Linked DNA regions of Homo sapiens: region 1 is linked to region 2. The links are contacts of gene promoters, found by promoter capture Hi-C in human tissues and cell types (Jung and others, 2019). All regions are on one chromosome and are shown on one strand. The core of a region is centred on a gene start or on the middle of the fragment in contact, and the rest is flanking DNA. Distances in the headings are between cores, read along the strand shown.

The links. The method cuts DNA at HindIII sites, captures the fragments that hold promoters and counts their contacts. A contact is called where the count stands out against the background at its distance.
Region 1: a contact is called between a fragment that was not itself captured here and the fragment with the promoter of XKR8 in region 2, in 2 of the 25 tissues and cell types used here (dorsolateral prefrontal cortex and hippocampus).

The regions. Positions count from the first base shown.
Region 1 is chr1:28,057,125-28,064,544 of GRCh38, reverse strand. It overlaps EYA3 (EYA transcriptional coactivator and phosphatase 3), which reads left to right. Exons shown (of 18, transcript NM_001990.4): 2 at 6,451-6,551. The coding sequence starts at 6,519. Among named protein-coding and RNA genes, the nearest start is that of EYA3, 28 kb to the left of the region's middle. The HindIII fragment of the contact is 7,152 bases long and covers 2,143-7,420 here.
Region 2 is chr1:27,956,128-27,963,341 of GRCh38, reverse strand. XKR8 (XK related 8) reads right to left here and starts at 3,369. Exons shown (of 3, transcript NM_018053.4): 1 at 2,980-3,369. The coding sequence starts at 3,272. SMPDL3B (sphingomyelin phosphodiesterase acid like 3B) reads right to left here. Exons shown (of 8, transcript NM_014474.4): 8 at 4,190-4,866. The coding sequence ends at 4,504. RefSeq lists an enhancer at 2,865-3,428 and a silencer at 3,109-3,498. The HindIII fragment of the contact is 22,893 bases long and covers 1-6,738 here.

The DNA of each region.
Region 1 (7,420 bases), core at 4,469-6,968, 99 kb before region 2:
GGCCTCTGTTGTTCTCCTTTCTCCCAAAATATTCATTATTAATTTTGTCTAATTTTCATTAAGAAATTTGTAGGTATTGGAGTAAACCTTTGTTCACTTCTTTTTTTTTTTTTGAGGCAGAGTCTCGCTGTCTCGCAGGCTCTATATATTTATATATATATATATAGAGAGAGAGAGAGAGAGAGGATGGCTTGCTTCCCTCTCTACCTAACTGCATGTTGAAAAATAAGCATTTGTTAATCTTAAACATCTGTCACATGAGTCATACACTGGGTTGTTTTTTATATACGTGTATGCACACATTATTTGAAATTGAAAGCAACGTCTCAATGGATTTGAAACTATTAAAGGCTATTGTCTAAAACGTGAAAAATGTATAACTAAAAATAAATGCACATATTAATATTTAAAGTGCATAATTAAGAAAACCTATTGGTGTTTTGTTTTTCTTGTATACCAATAATTAAGCCACTACTGTTGACACTATTTGGCTTTCTGTTTTAACATTGAATGAGTGAAAGTACTTCTTATATTTATGAATTTGCTGCTAAAATCTTGGCCAAAAAAAAAAAATTGTCTAAAATGTGTGGGTGAAAAATGTTAATCATGTATGTTTCTACCTTCCCCCCCAAAGTTGGACACCAACTATATACCGTAGGTTGCTTAAGGTGATTTCACTATTGTTAAATCAATAAGATAAAAATGAAATAGTTGTGTATATGCAACATTGTGTACAGAGGAGATAATGAATAGTATTAAACGTTCTCATCTTCCTTTACCTTTTGTTCCCTAATACCTATTCTACCTTTTAAAATTTCAGACTTCACTGCTCTTTGAATTCATAATTCAAATTTGCACATTATTATTATTGGAAAATCATATCTAATAAAGGTTTTAGGCCGGATGTGGTGGCTCACACCTGTAATCCCAGCACTTTGAGAGGCCGAGGCTGGTGGATCACTTGAGGCCAGGAGTCTGGGACCATCCTGGCCAACATGGCAAAACCCCATCGCTACAAAAATTAACCAGGTGTGGTGGCGCACACCTGTAATCCCAGCTACCTGGGAGGCTGAGGCATGAGAATTGCTTAAACTGGGGAGGTGGAAGTTGCGGTGAGCCGAGATTACGCCGCTGTGCTCCAGCCTGGGTGACAGAGCAAGATGCTGTCTCCAAAAAAAAAAAAAAAAAAAAAGGTTTTAGTTATTTCCCCCCCCAAAAAAAATTAAAAATAAAAAAAAATATATATATATATAAGGCACTTTGGAAAGTGTAGTAAATAAACTTAAAATACAATGTAGTCAGTGAGCAAATCTATGGACTACCTTTTTTCTATGTGGGACTGTGTCATAGATATCCAGTTAACTCCTGAATATCTCTGTACATACTTAGCTGCATGCAAATTCTCTTTCTAGGACCTATAAATCAGACTTTGCCTTACTTAGACACTTCTTTTGAAGTTGTAATTAAGAGTGATATATGCCTTGTTTTCATGGAAAACAATTTGACCTTTATTCTGTGCTTTTTTTTTTTTTTTTTGAGATGGAGCGTTAGTCAGTTTCCTGTCGCCCAGCCTGGAGTGCAGTGGTGCAATCTCGGCTCACTGCAACCTCCGCCTTCTGAGTTTAAGCAGTTTTCCTCCCTCAGCCTCCTGAGTAGCAGGAATTACAGGCGCGTGCCACCACGCCAGATTAATTTTTTGTATTTTTAAGAGAGACAGAGTTTGACCATGTTGGCCAGGCTAGTTTGAAACTCCTGACCTCAAGTGATCCGCCTGCTTTGGCCTTCTAAAGTGCTGGGATTACAGGTGTGAGCCACTGCACCCAGCCTATTCTGTGCTTTTAAACAAACAGAACACACACACACACACACACACACACACACACACACCTACATATATTTAATTTCTCTTCCTAAGCCTAAGAGCTTTAATAACACATTGAAGCAACCTAATTTCTTGCTTATGGCCATTTACATTTACAGGGTACATAGTATGTTGAACTTGGGACAAAACAGAAACTATGAGGTAGGAATCTAATTTGAATTTTGAAATAAAATATTTGTTACTAATTATTTCCCTTCTAACTTCTAAAGAGTAAAAATAAAATTTATGGCTGCCATATTACAGAAAGATCCTGCTTTTATTTTTAAGCATGCAAAATCTCAATAGTATTCAAAATTGTGTGGCTCTTGAATCAAACCAAAGTTTCTATTTTTTCACTGTCAGCATTCACAGGTAGAGAAGTGTAAAGTCTTAGGAAATACTATTTCTATTCTCAATTTAAAATTTTCTCAGAATTCTGTCCATGAAGGCAAATGAATACTGACAAGCTCTATTTCCAAAAAAGGTGATAAAACAAGTGTATTTAGAAACCAGTAGTAAGAATTGAAATTAGAAAATTGTGAAAAGACATTACTTTCCAAATGTTCTAAAGGTACTTAAAAGATTAACTCGGGGCATGTCTTGTAATTTCATCAGCTGTTTGACTAAGTTTTAATTTATTTTAATTACATTAAAAATCCACTTTTCACTTCTGTGTTACAACTGTTGTATTACTTGATATTTTAAAAGATGAATCTCACTGAATGTAAAATAATGTCAGGTTACATTAATGGTAAAAACAAACAAACAAACAAAAAAAAACCGTTGACCGGGCGCGGTGGCTCACACCTGTAATGCCAGCACTTTGGGAGGCTGAGGTGGGCGGATCACGAGGTCAGGAGATCGAGATCATCCTGGCTAACACGGTGAAACCGCGTCTCTACTAAAAATACAAAAAATTAGCCGGGCGTGGTGGCGGGCGCCTGTAGTCCCAACTATTCAGGAGGCTGAGGCAGGAGAATGGCGTGAACCTGGGAGGCGGAGCTTGCAGTGAGCTGAGATCGCGCCACTGCACTCCAGCCTGGGCGACAGAGCGAGACTCCATCTCAAAAAACAAAAGACAAAAAAAAAAAACACGTTAAATTCTAGAACTAATACAAGGAAACTAATACTAAGATTTTTACAGTAATTCTGTACTTCTTTTATTACCAAGTTTTGCAATATTGTGTCTTAGTTATACTGTATTTTCATCTCTTGCTAGTAAGTATGACTTTTGATTGTATAGCATGCACCACTTGTGGAAAATGGTATGAAGTCTTAATAAAAGTTTTAAACATTGATAAATGCTGGGACTGTGATGAATACTTGCATTCTTATATTTAGTATGTTCTGATATTTCAGGTCTTTCAGGGTACAAATTATTGGAAGGCAGGAGAATACTGTATTGATGGAAACTAGTATTTAGATGAATGTTTTGGTAGAATTACATAATTTGTGGTCATTAGTGCATTTTATACAGAATGTACCAGAATGTATGTTTGCAAACTTCCCACACATTGTATGTTGCCAGTAGAATCCCGGGGGATTTTGTAATCTATTCTTTCCTTGTAGGCAGCTTTTTGTTTTAAAATGATCAAAATTATTCGTGGTCATTGACCAGTTATTTTGAGATAGCAAGCCTGGTTTTTAAACTTTTCTTTTCTTTTCTTTTTTGAGACAGAGTCTCACTCTGTCACCAAGCTGGAGTGCAGTGGTGCGATCTCAGCTCACTGAAACCTCCGCCTCCCAGGTTCACGCGATTCTCTTGCCTCAGCCTCCCAAGGAGCTGGGACTACAGGCTTGCGCCACCACGCCCAGCTAATTTTTGTATTTTTAGTAGAGACAGGGTTTCACCATCTTGGCCAAGATGGTCTTGATCTCCTGACCTTGTGATCCGCCTGCCTCGGCGTCCCAAAGTGCTGGGATTACAGGCATGAGCCACCATGCCTGGCCAGTTCTTTTCTTCTAAATGTAGAAATTATTTGTGTACTTTTTATTCTCCTAGATTGAAAAGCCAAGAAGACAGAGAATTTTAAAGATGGAAACAACAAAGGGTGCTTATTTTCACAGAATAGATGTAGAAAGGAATGTCTTTAAATGTTTCCCTTAAAGAAGGTTTTCTTGCAGCTTACAGAATTTATGTCAAGAAATAGTAGATTCTTCTTTTTCTATTATAAAATCAATTTAATATTACCATATTTCTAAAAAGCAAAATTCAATATTTTAACATTTATTGATAATTTATATCCCCACCATTTATACTAATGTTTCTATGTTTTTTCTTTTAAAATGATTCTTCATTATTCAACTTGATAGAGCGTTTTCTTACTTTTTAAAACCCATGACCCCTTTTGACCTGTAAGTAGTATTATGTTCTCCTTTAATGTAATTCAGATTTTTAAAACGAATTAGTTTTTGTGTTTAAAAACAAAATTAAACCACATTATTGAGTGTGTATACACATAAATATTTTTTAACAATTATTCTTACCTTCCTCCTATCAGAGATGAAATTTATAACTCTTCCCCCATGGTGGAGTGGATATCCCTTTTATCTCCCTTGCTGAAAATATACTAGAGATTGTAGTTTTATAGTCATGGCCTTCAATTAGGGAAAACATGTAATGTTGTAAGTTTTCTATGGATGAGAACTGGTCACACAAAAAATCAACAACTTGGCCAGGTGTATGCCTGTAATCCCAGCACTTTGGGAGGCTGAGGCAGGCAGATCACCTGACGTCAGGAGTTCAAGACCAGGCTGGCCAACATGGCAAAAACCCATCTCTACTAAAAATACAAAAATTAGCCAGGCATGGTGGCGCGCCTGTAGTCCCAGCTACTTGGGAGCCTGAGGCAGAAAAATTGCTTGAACCCGGGAGACGGAGGTTGCAGTTAGCCGAGATTGCGCCACTGCACTCCAGCCTGGGTGACACAGCGAAACCCTATCTCAAAAAAAAAAAAAAAAAAAAAAATCCAACAAATGAGGTATTGAAGGTATTCCATTTCTCTAATGATGTGGTCCTATTTTGTTGTTTCTAATGGGATGAAATAATATATGTACATAATGTACATTTAGACAGTATAAAATGAAAAGGATTGTCCCTTAAAGAAAAGATACTTCAATTTGAAACTAAGACATAAACTAGTAAAACCAAAAATGTTTGATCTTTCATAGCTGTGAATCAGTTTTAGGTCACATTGACTGTGTTGTTCTAAGCTGAGCAAAACAAGTGCAGGGAAGATAGCTCCTATGAGCTTTACTTATTGCACTCTGTAATTCTGTATCACTAGTTACCTGTGTCATGTAGTAGGAGAACTTAGCTTTTGAGGCTCTGTGTATGAGCTACAGTGAGAGCATTGAGCATCAAGTGCTTCTGACCTTTAAACTTCTTTTTTCTTTTGATATTCTAAATTGGGGTAGGGAATAAAGCTGTGTTAGAGTTGGACAACTTTGCATCTAATTGTAACCTTATGTGTGTTTTCTCTCCTTTTCACATTCTGGAGTGTGGCTCTAAAATAAAGTTGTGTTGTATTGCAACACGACAGAGTAATAGAAGTAGAGTGGTGGTATACTGGCATAACAAGTTTTTGGTTTTCTTGTTATTTGTCTATTTTCAGTACTTGTGTGATAAGATTATATACTTACTTTAGCTTTGTATGTGAGTTAGGTACAGTGGTTGGTAGAAAAGCTAAAAACAGCTGTGACTTTAATTAAATATACAAGCAATCACATCTTTTGGGAGAAGTGCTGGTTTCACTTTTGTTAGATAGAAATGGAGTATTTCATTTTTATAATGTATGCAGCTTTCTAATTTTTGTCTCTTTGTCTCCTGTCAGTAGGACATGGTAAGGTGGACTTAGAATCCCATTTTTCCTTTTTTGTTTGAAAATCAGGACAGAAAGAGCAGGGTCTGAGAACGTAAAGATTTTGCTTAAATAATTGGGCAGTACAGTTAGTAGAAGTTCATTATTTCAGAATTAAATTAGGTCCTATCTTTGGATGATTATTTTCTTTAGTTCTAAAAGTCAAGGTTTCACTCTACTTATTTATTTTTATTATTGAGATGCAGAAGAATTGAGTTTTCCTTGAAATTGATGACATATAGACAGATAGTTGGTTGTGAATGCATTTAGTTGATATTCCGGTTTGTCCTATTTAAAGTGATTCTGTGTGTCTGTGTTAACAGTTATGTAAATGTTCCACATTAAAGCAGGTTAGATGTTATCATAACTTGCTGACTTGCTAGGCCAGTCCCTATCATTTTTAGTGTAACTCTAATCCTTAAAAAAATATTTTATTATCTGCACGTGGCTGTCATTGTAAAATGTTCAATGCATTAGGCACCATAGTAACCAGCAGAAGTGGTTCCACATGTTGGCTTTTGCAAGGTATTATAAAAGTCATTGTGTACACCTCTCTTGATTTGGTGTAGCATGTCATTTTTGAAAAGCCACGTGCAGGTTTGAGATTTTGTGATTGGAACTCACGTAGAAAGCTTGGGGTAGCAAGATACTAAAAAATCATTCTCTGATGGCCTCAATGATAATACTTTAAGAGTGTATAAAGCTTTGAATCCTCCTTTTTAAAAACAGATTGTGAAAACTGCTGAGAGAGACTTGCAATCCAGTCACATAAGTATAATAAAGAAATATTGGTCCTCATGGAAGAAGAGCAAGATTTACCAGAGCAACCAGTAAGTATTTCCTTTAACAGTTTAAAGTTGATTGTAGAAGAGCTAATCTTAAGAGATTTTAATTATTATTCAGTTATAGATTCCAAATTAGAAATAAAAATAAGGAAAAGATTCCTTGTTTCCTTTCAAGAAAACAATGTTATATTTTTCTAACTTAATTCTAAGGAGTCTAAGGAAAATTTAGCATTACGAAATGAATATTGCATTTAGAAATGTCATTTAAAAAAATAAGTGGCTAGTGTTACAGTTTTTAGAAAATAAAAGAGGACGTCTCTTTACTGATCTGACAGTATATCACCATTTCTACCAGAAAATTTAGTTTTGTTTTTACCTAAATTTCCTTGAGAGTTAATTTTTTAAAAAGTAGTAGTAGTGAGGAAGTTATAATTTGACCACTAGCTAATTCTTAAAAACAGATAAAACCCTAGAGACTATATTGAATTCTTAATTTCTTTTAAATATTGAACATAATAAAATAATTTTAAATGTCCCCAGGTGATATGGGTTTATCTTCTTTTTGGTTTTTGGCCCTTAATATTTAAAAAACAAAAGCAATAGTGTCATTCTTTTAAGATAACTTTTATGCTAGAGGGTCTTTTCCTTTTGTCTTCAGTTTCTTTCTCTGAAGTTTGGTAAATACCGATTCAATTTGCTATCCTGAGTGGGCCTCTTACATTTCATATTAAGAGAGGATACAGCATGGTACATGTTTACTTTATGAAAATCTAACCTATAAAAATTTGAATTTTGAAAGCAAATAATAGGATATGTTTTTCGTGTTCTAGTTGTATTCTTTAGGTATACTAGCTCCCATTTAAATGATAAAGTCCTTTAATATATTTTAAATATTTTTCTTTATATTGAGAAAT
Region 2 (7,214 bases), core at 2,120-4,619:
TCATCTGTAAAATGAGGATCGAGGCCGGGTGTGGTGGCTCATGCCTGTAATCCCAGCACTTTGGGAGTCTGAGGCGGGCTGATCACGAGTTCAGGAGATTGAGACCATCCTGGCTAACATGGTGAAGCCTCGTCTCTACTAATACAAAAAATTAGCTGGGTGTGGTGGTGCGCGCCTGTAGTCCCAGCTACTCAGGAGGCTGAGGCAGGAGAATCTCTTGAATCTGCAAGGCGGAGGTTACAGTGAGCCGAGATCGTGCCACTGCACTCCAGCCTGGCGACAGAACAAGACTCCGTCTCAAAAAAAACAAAAAAGCAAAAATGGGGATCAATACACCTTCTACTCCCGCTGGCTAAGCACTGTCCCAAGCTCATCACAAACCTTGTCCTGTTTACTTCTCACAAAAGCCCATTTTACAGATGGGGAAACAGGATCAAGAAGCTAATAAGGTCTGGGTGCAGTGGCTCGCGCCTGTAATCCCAACATTTTGACAGGCCAAGGCAAGAGGATCACTGGAGGCCAGGAGTTTGAGACCACCCTGGGCAACACAGCAAGCCCCATCTCTACAAAGAATTTTTTTTAATTAGTTGGACGTGGTGGTACAAGCCTGTAGTCCAAGCTACTCAGGAGGCTGACGCAGGAGGACAGCTTGAGCCCAGGAGTTCAAGGCCACTGTGAGCCATGATTGATTGTGCCACTGCACTCCAGCCCAGGCAACAGAGACCCTGCCTCTCTCTCTCTTTTTTTTTTTCTTTTTTTTTGGAGACAGAGTCTACATCTGTCGCTTGTCGCCCAGGCTAGAGTGCAGTGGCACAAACTCGGCTCACTGCAACCTCCACCTCCCAGGTTCAAGCGATTCTCCTGCCTCGGCCTCCAGAGTAGCTGGGATGCTGGGATTACAGGCATGCGCCACCACACCTGGCTAATTTTTGTAGAGATGAGCTTTTGCCATGTTCAGCAGGCTGGTCTCAAACTCCTGACCTCAAGTGATCCACCCACGTCAGCCTCCCAGACTGCTAGGATTACAGGCATGAGCCACCAAGCCTGACCAGACCCTACCTCTTTTTAAAAAACAAACAAAAAATTATAAGCAGCTAATAAGTACTGGAATGAGGATTTGGATCCAAACCTGAATTGGAAAGGCATGCTATAAAGTTGCCTGAGGCAGTAGTTCTCAAACTTTAGTGTGCCCAAGATCTCCTGGGGTCCTGTGGGCAAGAGGACATTTGCCTCTTGGGCACTTCTGGGCACAGGCCAGATGGAATCAGACTCTGCCTTGCCCCGGCCACACAGGGGAGGGGCTGGAGGAGGGTTAGATTGGAAGGAGGGATCCCATTTAAGAGGCTGGCCCTGAGTGGTTAAGGATGGAGATTGGGGCGGAGTTAAGAGAGTCCAGAGTTTGGACAGACAGGTCTGGGGTACCCACTGGCATGAAGAGTAAGTGGAGGATGCACCAAGGACCCTCCACCCAGAACTTTGCTCTCAGTTGCCTATTGGGAGAGAACCCCGTTCACTCATCACAAGCTCATTCACCAGACATGTACTGTCACTTCCCCTGGAAGGACACAAGAACACACTGAGGAGCAGGCAGGCAGGACAGGCTGGGGTTCTCCCTCAGCAGGAGCCTTTGCCTATGGTCCCCAGTGACCTAGCAGGGACCCCTGCCTCGGCCAATTCACAGGCAGGAACAGAGACCCATTTCCAAAGCCAAAGCTAGTACAGTCTGTCTGACTCAAGCTCAGCAGAAATATTGGCCACAAAGATGCATAAGGTAGTTACAGATTCACGGCTCATGGAGGCCTGCCCAGGACTTAACAACTGCACCCCTTCATGCCCACCCGGGGTTTTCTGATGTCTCTATAATCCCTCAGGCAAAACTGCCACATTCAAAGCTCCTCTCTTCCACTCCTGGAGACTCCGTGTGGCTTTGTCAAGGCCAGATCTCAAGAGTTTGTAAAAACGGATTCAAGAGCAGATCCTGGCCCTGGCCACCCCATCCCAACCCACACCACCCTCTGCCCTGACTTTGTCGCATGCCTCTGAGCCTTGGGTTTGTTTTCCCATCTCTACGAGGCTCCACCAGGTCCAAAAAGGAGCAGAATCCACACACATTTTCCAGGACCCAGCCTATGCCCAGCCCTGGCTGGCTCCATGGGCATGGATGAGTCAGAGGCCATCTCTGCCCTCTTGCTGGGTCTGGGGTGGGAAGCCAAGTTTCAGGGGGAAGAATACAACCAGGCAGACAGGGTGAGAGGCGGCCTTTGTGAGGGGCAAGCGCTGTGGTGGGGTCAGGGCTGCTGAAACTCCCAGGGAGGCCCAGGTCAAGAAGCCAGCTGAGGTTGCTGAGTGCTCACTCTGAGCCAGGGCAGTGGACAGATGTCATTTCACTGCATCTTCACCAAACGGGCAGGCGCTATCCCCATCCCAATGGGAACAGCAACCAAACAGCCCCACTGAGAGGTCAGTGACTTCCCAAGGCCCTGCCCATGCTGAAACATGGGATGCTGAACTGAGTCCGCAGCCCCTGCCATTACAGGCCAGGCACTGTGCGAGGCACTTTCTCATTCTTTCGCTCACTCTTCACAACAGGCCTGCCCGTCACACCTGTCTCAGGGTGACTACCTCCTTTCTACGCAGGAGGAAACTGAGGCTCAGAGAAATGCAGAAGTGAGGCGAGAGGGGGCAAAGCCAGAAGTGGATCCCTGAGAGGTCCGACTTCAAAGCCCATGCGCCTCCCTTTCTTCCCTGGGCCTCAGTTTCTTCGCCTGTGCCAGGAAAGCTAGGGCTAGAATGAAGGCAGTCTACCGGGATTCCCTTTCCGTAAAGGGCTGCACGCTCACCTGTAGGCCAGGCGCCCACAGGACTTGGTTCCCTCTCCCAGTCCCCTTCCCGGCATATGGCGTGTCACCTGTACAGGTGACCCAGCTGACGGAGGTGCTGGGCTCCGACACTCCTCCCCTCCCGGGGCGAAGCACTCACCTGTACAGGTAACCCAGCTGCAGGAGATGCAGCAGCGCCAGGCAGCGGCGCGGGGGCTGCGACCCGTGCAGGCCGGCAGGGTCAGCGCGCAGCCAGAGCCAGCTGAAGAGCTGCAGCGCCACGGAGGCCAGGCCCAGCAGCGCCAGCACCAGCGCCGCCCACAGGTAGCGGCCGCCGAGCGCATACTGGACGGCGGCCCACAGGTCGGTGCCCAGGTCGAGCAGGAAGGCGGCGGTGCCCAGCACGCCCAGGACCAGGTCCCGAAGGAGGGCGCCGCGGGACGACCAGGGCATGGCCCGCCGGCCTCCGCCCTCTCCTGCTCCTCCGCGGTTGGGGCCTGCCCTCAGGGCCCGGGGTTGCCGAGGCAGGAAGGAGGTGGGCGCAGCCCTCGGGGCGGCCCGGGGCCTGGGCCTGGTGGGCGGGACTTCCCCGTCCCGCCCCGTCCGGGGAGGAGCGAGGCCCGCGGTTGTCCCAGGTCCTCCGCCCGAACCCCAGCTAAAAGCCGCTCGATGCTCTGCTCCCGCCGCCAGCCCAGGGGTCCACCGACCCAGCCCAGCCAAGCCCGCTAGGCCTGAAGACCGACTGCCCTTCGCTTCGCAGGCTTCAAATGGCCTAGTTTTACCTTTGAGGCGCCCGGAGGCCCAAGAAAGCGAGAGGGCGGGGAGACTAGAGCCTGGACCAGGGCTGCGATCCCTCACACCTGTATTGTTGCAAAACAAAACGAAACGCAAAGGCACATTCTAATCCCTAAGTGCGAGACTTTGCAACAACGCGTGCGCCTCGATCCAGGGATACCCGGAGAGCACGGGGCCGCTGGGTTCACGCCAGCGATCCGAGTCGGGGGAGGGCGGGCGTTAGGTTCCTGCAAATGAGTTAACCTCATTTCCATACGGAAGGGAATAGAGGCCGGGCGCGGTGACTCACGCCTGTAATCCCAACACTTTGGGAGGCCCAGGCGGGCGGATCACCTGAGGTCAGGAGTTCGAGACCAGCCTGGCAAACATGGCGAAACCCCGTCTCTACTAAAAATACAAATTAGTCGGGCGTGTTGGCGCGCGCCTGTAGTCCCAGCTAGGAGGCTGAGGCAGGAGAATCGCTTGAACCCGGGAGGCAGAGGTTGCAGAGAGCCGAGATAGCGCCACTGCACTCCGGCCTGGGCGACAGAGCGAGACTCCGTCTCAAAAGAAAAGAAAAGGAACACAACACAGAATCAAACGCATGATGAGCTTTGTTTTGTGAGTTAAACATAATACGCAAAAGAAGTATGCTTGTAGGGGGGTCTTGGGTCGTCATTTCTTTTCTGTTTCTGGTTTGTTTTTGGAGAGAGTCTGGCTTTGTCACCCAGGCTGGAGTGCAGTGGCGCGATCACGGATGGCTGCAGCTCCTGGGGCTTCGCTTCCTGATTCGGTTGTCCTATTTCAGTTCACTCCTCAGGCGCGGAGGAAATGGTGGAAGGCCCAGCTCTGGGTGATCCTGGGCGCTGCCCCCGTTACCCGTTACCAGGAAGAAGGTGAGCCTGGCAGGTCACAGCACGAGCGTGCACAGGCCCAGCAGGGCCATCAGCAGCAGCGGGAGCTGGGGCACGGGCGTGGTGCCAGAGGCATACAGACAGGTGGTGTAAGCGTCAATGTCCACCTGGCGCATGGCACACACGTGCTGCATGCTGCAGGCCTCGTCGCAGACCCCAGCAGAGTAGCTGACTGAGTTATAGACGTAGTAGCGCTGCAGTGTGCTCTGGTCGCCAGCGATGCGGTCCAGCACTGTGTGCATGGAGTGGGCGCTGGCGTCCGGCACCCCATAGGCCTCGGTCAGCTGGTACTCGAGCTCCCAGCGCGGCGTCCCCTGAGCATTCGCCTGGCTCAGGTTCATGAAGTAGGTCACCATGTCCTGGAAAAAGGGTTTGGGGTAGACCGGCTGTGAGCAGTTGTCTGCTTCCATCCCCATCCTGCACCTTGCATTTGCCCCCAAGTTCTTTAGAGCAGTGACCATGACCACTAGTAGTTATTGAGCACTTAGCTGTGCACCCATTGTGCTTGGCAGACATCCTCTGAATCGAATGAGGTAACTGCGCTTATTACCTAGGTTTCACAAATGAGGAAACTGAGGCCTAAAGAGGTTAATTCACTTGGCCAGGGTCATACAGGTATTCATACAGGTATTCAGTGGTAGCAGGATTGGACCCCAGGTTTACCCCAGGTCCCACCATGCTAGGGTACACATAGAAGACGCTCAGTAAATATTTACATAATGAATAGATAAAAGCAACATAAAAAGAGCAACACTAAGCATGAGAGAGATTATGAACTGTAGACTCCTAGGACCCAGGTGCATGTTCACGGCTAGACTCTGCAGGGTTCATCAGTCCAGCGGGTTCCAGGTACATTTATGAACCTGCTTCAGGCCACTGCAGACGGGGTAAGAGGAGCTGCCCGTATGCATGGCCACTCTGTGCCAGGAACATTCCATTATTTCATGTAGTCCTCCTCAAACCCTGCGAGGTTCTGTTACTCCCATTTTACAGATGAAGCAAGTGAGGCACAGAGGTCAAAAGATCAAAAAGCTTATGAGTGGTGGAGCCAGGATTCAAGCTCAGGGCTGACTCCCTCCCTGAGGAGAATGGAGGGCCTGTTAGGGGGTGATGGTGCAGCCTGCCATTCCCCTTGCTCAGACCCTTGGAGTGCCCATGTGGACAACAGGCCACTCTTTAAACCCCTCAGACCTCTTCTTAATCTACCTTTACTAGAATCAAGGACCTGGGTTAGCTCATGCAGTCGTTGGCTTTAAATGTCCTCTCTCCACTCCCAGATCACATCTCTATCCTCACCTCTTCAAGCTCCAACTTGCCCCTTCCCTGTCCACTTTCACTTGATGCCATTTAGCCCTCCCAAAGGTAACAGGTCCAAAACAAGACCTCTGACTGACCCTCCGAAGCCTGATCACCCTGCCACTTATCTCAGTAATCGGCAGCCACAGCCTACCGTTGCACAGGCCAAGAGCCTTGGAAGCCTCCTGGATTCGTCCCTTTTTCTCACAGCTCATATCCACTCTAGCAAATCCTGCATCCAGAATTCATCTGGGACCTGGCACTTTTCACCATCTCACTGCCTCCACCCTGGGCAAGCTACTATCCTGTCATCTGGGATTTGTCCTTCCCTCCAAACGGCCTCACTGCTCCCCCACCTGCCCCTACAGCCTGTTCCCTGCACAGCAGACATGATGATTCCATAAAATTATAAGTCACAGGATTTCATTCTTCTGCGCAAAACCCTCCAAATCCAGAGTCCTCATGGAGGCCTGCAAGATCGGACCTCCCCTCCCACTCTCCCCTTGTGCCTCTTACTGTGGCCACATGGCCTCCGTGCTCTTCCCCTAACCTACCACGCACATTCCCACCCCGGGGCCTTTGACTTGCTGTTCCCTCCACCTCCCCAAGATACCCACTGGGCTCCCTCCCTCAATACACTCAGAACTCAAATGGCACCTTATGTGGACACTTCCCCTTCCCACCTATCTAACACAGTACACACCTCCCATAGCTGTCACCCTGTCGCCTCACTGTTTTGATTTTCTCCTTAGCCCTTCTCTCAGTACTATAATTAATTCTACATATTTATTGTCCCTCTCCTGTAAGATGTCAGGTCCAGGAGAGGGGTGACTTTGTTTTTAAATTTACATATCTTCTGAGATTAGAACAGGGCCTGGCCAATGGCACACACTTAATGCATTTTGTTGGATAAATAAAGGAATAATATTTTTCATCTCAACAACCACAAGCTCATCCTACGAGGTGAGGGACTGCCCAAAGAATTAGGGGCTGGAGCCTCGTCTGTGTACGGAAAATGTGGACAATGGGCTTGAAGTCAGACTGTGGGAAGCCTTGAGTACTAGGTCAAGGAGACACAACTTTATCTTGAAGGCACTGGGGAGCCACTGAAGGTTTTTGAGCAGGACGGAGACAAGATGAAAGTGGTGCTATAGGAGATTAGTTTCTTCTCTCTTGTGTAGCGGATGGGCCATAGCAGGGCAGGGCCAGAGGCAGGGAGACCAGGTATGAAGCTGTGACAGTCATCCAGGGGAAAAGGTGACTTGGTGAGGCACTGCCCTGACTCGGTGGCAGGTGCCTCCAGGGTTCTGATCCTGAGCTGGAGAAGGGTGGAAGGAGCTCAACCTTCCTGAGGCTCAGTGGTCAGGGGAAGGTGGATAAGCTGAGAGTGAGGGAAGGTGGTGATGCATTT